Linked DNA regions of Homo sapiens: all the other regions are linked to region 1. The links are contacts of gene promoters, found by promoter capture Hi-C in human tissues and cell types (Jung and others, 2019). All regions are on one chromosome and are shown on one strand. Each heading gives the region's core, a stretch centred on a gene start or on the middle of the fragment in contact. The rest is flanking DNA. Distances are from core to core; before and after follow the strand shown.

The links. Contacts are between HindIII fragments. The study calls those that stand out against the background at their distance.
Region 2: a contact is called between a fragment that was not itself captured here and the fragment with the promoter of CCDC136 in region 1, in 4 of the 25 tissues and cell types used here (bladder, heart right ventricle, mesendoderm cells and 1 more).
Region 3: a contact is called between a fragment that was not itself captured here and the fragment with the promoter of CCDC136 in region 1, in 2 of the 25 tissues and cell types used here (bladder and thymus).

The regions. Positions count from the first base shown.
Region 1 is chr7:128,790,187-128,793,673 of GRCh38, reverse strand. It overlaps CCDC136 (coiled-coil domain containing 136), which reads right to left and starts at 1,706. Exons shown (of 18, transcript NM_022742.5): 1 at 1,247-1,706. The coding sequence starts at 1,262. RefSeq lists silencers at 2,323-2,591, 2,130-2,599. The HindIII fragment of the contact is 16,505 bases long and covers 1-3,487 here.
Region 2 is chr7:128,714,690-128,718,176 of GRCh38, reverse strand. GARIN1B (golgi associated RAB2 interactor 1B) reads right to left here and starts at 2,786. Exons shown (of 7, transcript NM_001282788.3): 1 at 2,487-2,786; 2 at 1,180-1,364. The coding sequence starts at 2,735. The HindIII fragment of the contact is 6,852 bases long and covers 1-3,487 here.
Region 3 is chr7:128,854,835-128,858,321 of GRCh38, reverse strand. FLNC (filamin C) reads right to left here. Exons shown (of 48, transcript NM_001458.5): 42 at 3,410-3,487; 43 at 3,008-3,123; 44 at 1,672-1,804; 45 at 1,401-1,577; 46 at 986-1,204; 47 at 105-314. The region is part of intron 1 of FLNC-AS1 (FLNC antisense RNA 1); the gene reads left to right. Among named protein-coding and RNA genes, the nearest start is that of FLNC-AS1, 6.0 kb to the left of the region's middle. RefSeq lists an enhancer at 1-129. The HindIII fragment of the contact is 9,938 bases long and covers 1-3,487 here.

The sequences.
Region 1 (3,487 bases), core at 457-2,956:
CGAGCCACTGGCACTCCAGCCTGGGCAACAGAGTGAGTCTCCGTCTCAAACAAACAAACAAACAAAAACAACCAAACAAAAACTATCCAGGTGGCTTGTGAAAAATCAGCCTTTCCATAATAAGAAAACATTGCCCGTCAGCAGGTAGAGAAAGAAAATATCTGATTGTAGAGGTTTCATTGGACAAACTCGGGCGCCCTTTCAAATGTATATTATTAAATACCTGTTTGAAATTTTCTACAAGGTCCACCTTGTTTTTCCCTGCTGCATGTCACAAGGTCTCCTCTCCCCTAGCTGAGCCATATGAGGCCCCTCCTACTCTGCTGACCACAAAGTAGATTTCAGGGGAAGTTTTAGGCTGTACTTGTGTGTAAAAGAAAGCCTACCATTTTAATGCATTAAAAAAACTGGGGTTTGGTGCTGGCCCCCAGCCTCTGGTTGTGAGCACCCGCTCCTTTACTGCAACGCAGTCCCTATAAATAGCAAAATGTTGTCTGGATGGTGATTGTTTGCTTTGTTTTAAAATTCTGAATCTCTGGTCTTACTTTATCTAATATCAGCAGCCTTAGGTTCAACTGGGACCCTTCGTGCCATCTGTCCCCCTTAGGGGGAGCAGGTTTGCCCATACTGAATGTGCAACGTGCAACACTTCACAGGAAGTACTGGCAAATGGACCAGCGTCCTTCCAGGGGCCTGGTGTTGGCAGCAACTGCCAAGTCACATGGGTGTGGTGGGGATACACGTGTGTTGGGAGGATGGCCTCACGCGCCCCCTCCTAGGCTCTCTCTTTCAGGCAATAAGGTATCCTAAAGAACCAAAGCCACAGGCTTCCATTCGAAGTTAATGTTGGTGGCCCCAGAAAGACAATTCACATGCCCAGTTCCTTGCTTTTTAAAATAAGAGACAGCTTGGGATCTGGGTCGGCAGGCAGTGAGGACAAACCCCCTGCTGAAAGGCTGCTTCAAAGCTCTGTCCAACAAGGCCTCTTTCTCTGTCTGGCAGCTCCCTCGGGACACATAACCTGGTTAGCTGGGGGGTGATTGGGGTCCCGAAGGGATGCATCCTGAACTTCTGTCAAAGCCTGAGCCCTGGGAAGGGCTGGAGCTCTGAGCTGCAGGAAGAGGGGCTAAGATGAACTGAGGGAAGGGCTGTGTCCTGGCTCAGAGGCCTGGGGGTCAGAGGGAGGAAAGAAGGGAATTAAGGGAGGAGGGGAGGGGAAAGAAAGAAGCCTTTTGGGAAAACTCACCCTCCATAGCTTGCATCCCCCGTCGTTCCAGGGACCCCCAGCGTTGGCCCTTCTTCCTCTCACAGCCCTCGGAAGCCTCATAGGAGCCTAGAGTGGTCACTGTGGGTCCTGAGAGCAGGGAGAAAGGAGGGGCTGGGGGGTGGGGGGCTGGCTGCGGGCTGGGGTGCAGAGGAAAGAAGGGGACATGTCTTCCAGCTCCTCGAGGCTCTGGGATCTGTAATCCCAGTGGAGGTGCCTGACTCACTCTGGCGGCTCTGCGACTCCTCTCTCTCGGCCACCTCTCAGCCCTGCCTCCCAGCCTCCTCAGAACCCGCTGTTCCAGGACCCTCTTGCTTGCACAGAAAGAAAGAGGGGGTGTGCGTATTTAGTCCGGGGGGACAGGGAGGAGAGGGCCAAGACTGAAAGAGGGCGGGAGCCAGTGAAGAAGAGGCTGAAAGGCTGAGGTGGCCTACAGATGGAGGGAGGGAGGAGTGGGGGGCGTGCGGGAAGGGGTAGGGCTGCGACCGCTCCCCTCCCCTCTCCTCCCATTCTCTCGCTGGACCTTGCCCACCCCACCCTCGCCCCGCGCTCAGGAGTCTCCGGGGCTGCAGGAGGTGTAGGGTCTGCAGTCCCGAAGGCTGGAAGCACCGTCGGACTGAAGTGGAGAGACGCGCTGGGGAGGGACCACCAGGCAGGATGCGGCCGGTGCGCGGAAGCCTCAGTCCCAGGCCGGAAGGATGGAGACCGGGCCCCGGTGGAGGCCAGGATGGAGGGAGGAAGACTTTGGGCGGAGAAAGGGGAGCCGCGGAGGCCGGGAGCACCTGGGGGTCTGGAAGGAGGAGGGATGGAGGAGAGAAAGGAGGGGCGGTAGACAGGTGACGGAGGGGCGGCTCTGACCTGGGCCCGGGCAGCTCCAGCCCGCGGCTCCCGCGCCGGCTCCGGCGCCCGCCTCCATGACCGCTCCCGCCGCCGCCTTCCGCCTCCCTGAGCAGAAGCCGCAGCCGCGAGCCCGGGGACCCGAGCCGGGTGCGCAGGGAGGGAGGGAGGGCGGACGAGGGGGCGGGGCCTGGCCGGGCCTCCTGACACCGCCCCCCGCCGCTCGCCGCCGCCCGGAAGCCCTCCCAGCACTCGGGAGCTCCGAGCCCGTGCAGGGGGCGGCGCGGGAGGGTGAGCGCGACCCCGGATACGCCCCAAGGCTCTCCCCTAGAGAGCGCGGGGAGCCGCGGGGCCCGGACAGCGTCAGGAGCTCCTAGGCTTATGGCTGCCCCAAGAGGGAGGAGCGAGATCCCCTGGTTCTGGCGGCGGGTCCCCCCGGGGTCTGCTGTGCCCAGGGACCCTTCTGCACCAGGTGTCAGGGCCCGGTCATGCTCAGCAATGGGGACGGCAAAGGACGAGGTGGGACTGTTTCCTCCAAAAGCGCAGACACGCGCGCCCCTCCTTCCCTCCCTCCCCCGCCCGGCCGGCGCCCCCACCTAGCAGTCCGCGCTGACTCCGGCCCCAGGCCCTGCCCACCCCTGCCCGGTGGCCCCTCGGCAGCCTGGGGGCCGGAGGAGGGAAGTCGAGGCCCGGATGGGCGAACGGCAGGGCCCTGACCTCTCCGCTTTCCGCGACCCCCCACCGAGCCAGGGCCAAGGACCCTCTTAGGAGGAGCCCTCCGGTGGCCCCATCAAGCCTCAGGGCCGGAAGACCCCCTCTCCTCCGCCCTGTCTTCCCTTCCGGTCCCACACCCGGTGGGCTGCGAGCCACGCCCCCACAGTAGCCCGCTCAGAGTGGGCACGACTGATGTTCACTCTCGTGGAAGGGAGATTTGGAAGCCCAGGGGGCTTATTTCACGTCTTCAACCATTCGTTTATTCAGGCTATGACTACTGGGTGCCGGCTCTTGAAGAGGCAGTTCTCACATCTCGGCAGGTCTCGGCAAGGATAGAAGTGGGCACAGTTGGGAACAGGGGCTCCCCAGCACATCCAGGAAATGGCTGGAAGATTCCTAAGCCAGGGACACACGCGGATCCCCTCTCTGGCACATCCACTCACAGGTCGAGGGCTAGTATTGTCTGCGTTCCCCCCGCTGCAGGAAAGGGATCCGGATCCAGACCGCAACAGAGGGTTCTTGAATCTCACGCAAGAAAGAATTCAGGGAGGTCCATAGGATAAACTAAAAGCAAGTTTATTAGGAAAGTAAAGGAATAAAGAATGGCTACTCCATAGACAGAGCAGCCCCAAGGGCTGCTTTTTTTGGTTATTTCTTGATGATATGCTAAAC
Region 2 (3,487 bases), core at 481-2,980, 76 kb after region 1:
ACAGGCACGAGCCACCGCGCCCAGCCAAAATTTCTTTCTTGAAAGCACCAAAGGAGCTTGCCCCACTGTCTGGCTTGTGCATTTATTGAGTTTAATGCCACAGTTAGTCTTCCCAAGGGAGTTAAAGTTCAAGGATCTGGCTTTGGATCTAATATTAGTCAGCTGGGACTGGGTGGTACTTGCTAGAGGTACACCAAGAACATCATGGAGAGGTGTGTCACTGAGGTAGCATGGAGAAATGAAGGGTTTTCTTGGACTTTTGGGAATTTCTAGAGATTCTTGAGATATCCTACAGATTATTTAAAGAGGCCCCAAAATTTAAAAAGGCTACTTCGTCCCAGACAAGCATGATGTCACTATATGCTACAGCTCTAAGTGAGACTTAGTCCCATTTATTTTACTGATTAAAAAAAAAAAACAAAAAAAACCTGGCCGGGCACAGTGGCTCACGCCCGTAATCCCAGCACTTTGGGAGGCTGAGGAGGGTGGGTCACCTGAGGTCAGGAGTTCAAGACCAGCCTGGCCAACATGGTGAAACCCTGTCTCTATTAAAAATACAAAAATTATCCAGGTGTGGTGGCAGGCACCTATAATCCCAGCTACTCGGGAGGCTGAGGCAGGAGAATCACTTAAACCTGTGAGGCAGAGGTTGCAGTGAGCCAAGATCCCACCATTGTACTCCAGCCTGGGCGATAGTCTTTTTTGAGACTCAGTCTCAAAAAAAAAAAAAAAGAAAGAAAGAAAAAGAAAAAGACAAAGAAAACTGAGGAGCAGCAAATAACTTGTGATTTTAAAAATTGAGTCCAGTTAGTTGTACACCAAGAACTAGAAATAATCTCCTTTCCCCAACCAGTGCTCCATCTGCCAGACTCACTGCCTCCTTGCCCTTGGGCCCAATGCTGAGAGATTTCCTATGAATTCAGTGGCGTCTGTGCAGCGAGAAAGAAAGTGGGCAGGTAGACTAGCCCCTGACTCCTGTCCACATGACATCTCCCTTTGTCCCACTTGGCCTCTGTCCTTCCAGTGCAACACCTGTCTTAGGATACTCTGTTGTCTAAAAAAATCAATGTCACTGCTGATGACATCTCTATCTTCTCCTTGAGTTTAGTAGTCAAGCAACCTCCACTTTGCATCCACCCCTCACCCCTCTTGTCCTCCATTCTCATCTGCATTGCTCACCTCTTCAGGAAGATGTTGGGGGCTATGGATGGTCTGTTCCATGTCTGGTTCTGCCCCTGGTGCCATTTGACACTGGCCATGAGTAGGATGTTGGGGAGGGGCAGGCAGGGTACCGAGGAGGTCACCCCCAGGGCCATGGTGTTGGAAGCTTTGTAGACGTCTCTCCAATTCCTGCCCCTTTTGACCTGCAACACAGCCCCCAGGCACAACCTGAGCATTTGGCAAAAGCTGCAGTCTGTTTCAGCCCAGGGTTTCTCAACCTCGACACTATTAATGTTTTGGGTTGGATATTCTTTGTTGAGGGTAGGATACTGCCCTGCACACTAAAGAATGCTTAGTAGCATCCTTGACCTCTACCTACTAGTTCTAGTAGCACTACCAGCCAAATCGTGACAATAAAAAATGTCTCCAGACATCGTCAAATGTTCCCTGGCAGTTGGGGCCAAAAATCAATTCTTGTTGATAGCCACTATATTGATTAAACAACTACTAGTATTTAAACAATATTTCAACCACCCATTTGTTAACAATTGCCCACAGGAATTACAACCCAGGAGTTCCCTGCCATCTGTCATTTCTGCCAATCCTCCCTGGACTGTTTCCTGGCCTTCTTTGAAAAATGTATCCTCTTGGTCCTTCCCCGAGGTGCCCTATTATCTCCTGCACCTTCACTGAACAGGAAGGTCCTCTCTAACTCCAAAGTGCTGTTCATTCTCGCTTCCATCCAACCAGAGGAGAGCCCAGGCAAGGAGACGAACGTGCACCGAGTGCCTGTTAGACAAGGTACTTTTCTTGCTGTATTTGCATTTCATCCTCAGGTCAGTTCAACCCTTTTACAATCAAGGGGCCAGATTCAGGCTGCACAGGTTACTTGCACAGTCACCTCCCAAGGAGAAGGCAGAGGACTGGAATCTGAGCCCAGCTGTCTCTGGGACCCCAGGTGCTGTTCTTTCGCCAATCCGCATTATTGTTCTCAAGAAGCGTCTCTTTTTACTGCCTCTTTGTTCATCTACTTCAGGTGACAGCCTGGGGGCTGAAGTAAACTGGGGGATTAGATACCAAATTCTCCACTCAGAGCAGAGGACCCCTGACCTTTCTCCCTGGGTGACAGCTGTCTGTAGGAGAAGCCCCGTCTGGGGCTCAGCAAAGCCCAGGTCAGTGAGGGTGGCCTTGCATTCCAGGTCCACTAGCTTCTCCTTGCCTCAATTCTCACTCTGCCCCAGTTTCAGGGATGGACTCTCTCAGTCATATCTTGGGAACAGGTTTCGAAGAATCAAAGAGTGCTATTCTGCGCCACCCAAGAATACCTGGATGAAGTTGCTTTCAAACACCACGGAGTCAAGAAACAGGTTGAATTCTGGAGAATGAACCACCCGGCAGAGCAGTCCCTCCTCCACACCTAGGCCCGCTCCAGGGTTCGGCTCTCCATCCACAGGCAAGAGGCCCCTGAATTCTTCCCAGGCATTCAGGGAAGGGAAGGTTGGATAGGATCTTGTGACTTTTACTGTCTTCTTTGATTTCCTCCAAGTCTTTCTATGTGGAAATGATGACAACATTTCTACACATGCTCAGGGGCCTGCTGCACATTTGTCCTGGGATCTCTGTCTCCCCTCCTGGCCTTGGGCAGCTGGCCAAGCCCTGGGACCACCAGTCAGCTCACAATGATGAATGGATGACATCATGAAAAACCAGGACAGACCTGCAGGAAGGGGAAGTGCAAAGGAGCCTCCCTTTTCCTCCAGAGAGCTTGTGTGCCTTATCCGTGCCTGGACATTCCCCAGCCCTTTTCGGAACCCCAGGACATAGTCCTCCCGGAACTTGCTGAGAAAGCAGTGAGCCAGGCAGAAAGCAAGCAAGGAGGGCTGTCAGGAAGATCCTTCCACTGCTAAGAGGAAAATGCCCTTCCTGCCTTTCAACCCTTCCTTACTCTGAATGCAACCTATCTCACACAACTTTAAAAGCTGCATGTCCATTGAAAACCCCATCTTCCTAAGCTTTGCAGCATGTGGGCCCCCGACACCCTGGTGGATCTGCAGGTTATGGAAGCAGTTGCAGGGCAGTTGGTGCCTGCTCTGCATTCTGCCGCGGCAGGCTGGTTACTTCTGCAGGACTTACTTCCCTTAGGAGGTCAAACTGAAGAAGCAGGAGAAGTAATTAGTTTCTTATCCAGAGGCTGGCTTTGTCAGGGCGCTGGCTGGGAGGAATAGAACCCCGATGAGCAGCTCTGCTAGGTCCCAAGCTGTTCCCCCTCTTGGAGAGTGACAGCATCCCTCACCCCTGAACCAGAGGAGGAAAGAGCCCAAATCAT
Region 3 (3,487 bases), core at 482-2,981, 65 kb before region 1:
AGAGGGACAGGCTCACACCAGGGAGTCCCCTACTGTGACCCACACCCTGCTCCCTGACGGCTTCTTGCTCACACCCCGGGAGACGCCCTCCCCCCGCCACCTGCCTGCTTTGCTGCAGTCCACGGTGAAGGAGTTCTTCTGGCCCACGAAGGCCTGGGACAGCCCAGGGCCCCGAGTCACCACCTTGCTGGCATCTGAGGAGAACTTGGGGATGGAGCTGTAGCTGGAGCCCCGGCTTGAGGAGGACTTGGTCACAGTCTCCACCAGAACCGTGGATGTTTCGTGAAGGCTGTGGCCTCCGGACAGCCTCGGACCTGAGGGGTGGGTGGAGGGGGCACAAACCTAGTCAGAAGGGCTTCCTGTTCTTCCCCAGGCAGGGGACCCTCGGCCAGCACTGCCACCCTGTGGGACTCACTGCCTGCATTTGAGGCTCCCCCTCAAATTCCTCCAAGGGCCACTCTAGGAGCACAGCCTCATTCCCAGCCAGGGCCCTGAGCTGCCAGCTCCAACTGGTGCTCCACCCTAGGGCTGGGGCCTCAGATGCTGCGTCCCTCATCCTTGCAGGCTTTGTCTGGGAACTCAGGCTAACTCACAGGGTAAGAGCCACTTTACAAAGGAACACCCACCCAACTCATCCTACAGACAGCCTCAAGAGGGGAAGCTTGCTCAATACCGACTGTGTCTTCTTGGAGCGGAGGAATATGGGAAGCCAGGAGGGAAGAAAGTGGTGCTAGAGCCTGAGGAGCCAGCGCAGGCCAGAGCTGAAGGAGTGAGGGGCCACGATGGAGAGGAAGAATGGCATTTTTACGTGATCATGCCCGACTCCACAGAACGTGTACTGTGTAGAGCCAGGCCCACCTCTAGCCCTGGTAAACTGACCATGATGTCTGGGGGCAGACTATGGCCTAGATGTGCGTGGCCACCGGAGCCCTCCAGGCTGGGCTGGGCTGCAGGCTGGGTGGACCTCCCCCAAACTGGCACTCACCAGTGACCTTGGCCTTGAAGGGGCTGCCCACGATGTGCTGGGGGCCACCGTACTTGATGGCAATGAGGTAGTTGCCAGGGGCCATGGGAGTATAAGTGACCACATGGCCCTCAGGACACTCCCGACAGTCCAGCTGCACCTTGGAGGGGCCATCAATGGTGACAGACAAGGCCCCCGAGCCGGCATTCAGGGTGTTCACGATGAACTCTGATGACACACCTGGGGGCCAGAGGTAGCAAGGCTGAGGGCAGGAAGGGCTTGTGGCCCAAGAGGGACTGGGCCCCAGCTCCCTGGACAGCCTCTGTGGGGACTCCTGGCTTAGGAAGCAGGGCCCCTACCTCTGGAGCAAAGCAGCACCAGACTAGTGGCCAAGCACCCCCAGAAGTCACCCTGTTCCCCAGCTCCAGGCACTCACCGGTAGTGCCTCCCTCGAGCCCAGGACCGTAGGCTGACACCAAGCCTGGGTCCCCAGCCTGGCTCTGCTCCCCAACGCGGATCTTGAAGGGACTTCCAGGGATGTGGGCACCGTTGAACTTGACATCGATGGAGTGGACGCCATTCTCGTGGGGGATGAAGCGGATGGTGTGCTTGTCTGTGGATAAAGGGTTGGTGGCTTAGCCTCCATCCTTCCCCTCCCCAGAAGGCCCCAGCCCGGAAGGGAGTTGGCAGGGGCAGGGCCAGCTCACCACTGTCCAGCTCAGAGACGTAGCACTCCTCCACAGCCCCCGAGGGTGTGTGCACCCGGGCATCAATCACGCCCCGGGCACCGTTCAGCTGCACGGCAAAGGACGCTGGCTGGTTCACCTTGAGCCCCGTCTCCTGCAAAGGCCACGGAGGATGCTCAGACTCCTGGGAGGCCGGGGCTGGAGCAGTCTTCTCTGAAGCCCCACACGGTGCTCACTGTAAGCCCAGCCCAAAGGCTGCTGCCACCCCATGCCCAGCCTGGCCCCTGCCTGCCAGCCCAGCCTGGGAGCAGGAGGAGCCAGGGTCCGGTATGCAACCCTATGTGTGCACCTGCTATCCTAGCTGTGCTTGGTGTGTGGGAGATGACAGACGATGTGCCCTGTCCTGGCTGAGGAAGGAAGGGCCCCACTCTGTGTGAAGCAGGCTGAGGGCGGAGGGCAAGTGCCTGATGGGCTGTGTGGGCTGGGGGTGCCAGAGAGCTCTGAGGTAGGAAGCTGAGTTTCACTGGCCTGGCCTGGGAGAGCTTCCTGGAGAAGGTGGACCAACAGGGAGGACCAGAAGAAGCACAGAAGGGCTCTGGGGGAGGGATTGGAGCCTGCATCGGGGAGCCCAGTTCAGGAGTGGGAGGAGGAGATGCACAAGGACTCTGGATGGGCCAATGTGACCACCCTGAGGGGCAGCCAGGAGGCGCGTGGGAGAAGGAGGTGGGGTGAAGCCCATTCTGTGCGCCTTATGCAGAAGCTCCTTTACAATGTGTCCCCTGGACACCTGGCCCCCTGGTTTGCATGTTTCAGTGTGACTTGCTGAAAGCCTTCCTTGCACATGTCCGCTGTGACAGAATGAAAGGAACACACCACATCTCTAGAAGTCAGCAGCAAGAGAAAGCAAGCCAGGCCCCCAGCGGCCTGAAGAGGATGCAGCCCAGGCTCTGCAGCCCATAGGCATTCCCTTTAGAGGAGCCTCTCACACCCTCTGTGCAAACTGGTTTACTCTTAGTTTGTATAGATTTTATGCTCTCATTCTTATAAATGTTGTCATCTAGCATTCTTACAACAGAAGGTGGAACAAACTGTAACAAGAAATGGCAGGTGGCAGTAGGACAGGCAGACACACCCTGAGAAAGGCAGAACGAGGCGTGGCATGCCTGAGTGCACGGGCAAGCCCCCAGGGTGGGAGCCCACCGTCCCCAAGGGCCCTGCCTCGTGCCTTATGAGAAGGGACTCCTAACTGGCCCTTCCAAGGTCACTGCTAAATCCCTGGCCCCATGGACCTGCTGTCCTCAACTCCTGCCCATCTCTCAGATAGCAGAAACCCTCCACCCCCACCCTGGGCACAAACCTGGAGGCTGGTGACAGTGAGACGGCGAGCGTCATCCGAGAGGGAGGCCACAGGCACCACAAAGGGGCTGTCTGGGATGTGCTCATCATTGAACTTGATGGAGACCTCATAGTCACCTGGGGAGAGAGACCAGTCAGCACAGGTTCCGGGATGGAGGTTGGCAGGGCGGGAGCCTCCCCACCCTGGCCTTATCCCAGGAAAGGCTCTGTGGTCAGCGCTCAGATCTGGAGGCAGACACATGTTTCTGAGGGTGTGGGGTAGAGGGAGACGGGGCAGAGGAAGAGCAGGGGGCTCCGGGGAGGGGAGTTCTGTGGCCCCAAGCATCTCCTGCCTGGCCAGTGGGCAGAAACCCAGTCTGGAAGGTCAGGCAGGCCCAGCCCCACTGCCAGTGTGGACGCCCACCTGGTTCCTGGACGACATAGGAGACGCCGCAGGAGCCATCTTTGCGATCCTCAAATGCAATCTCCGCTTTGCTAGGAC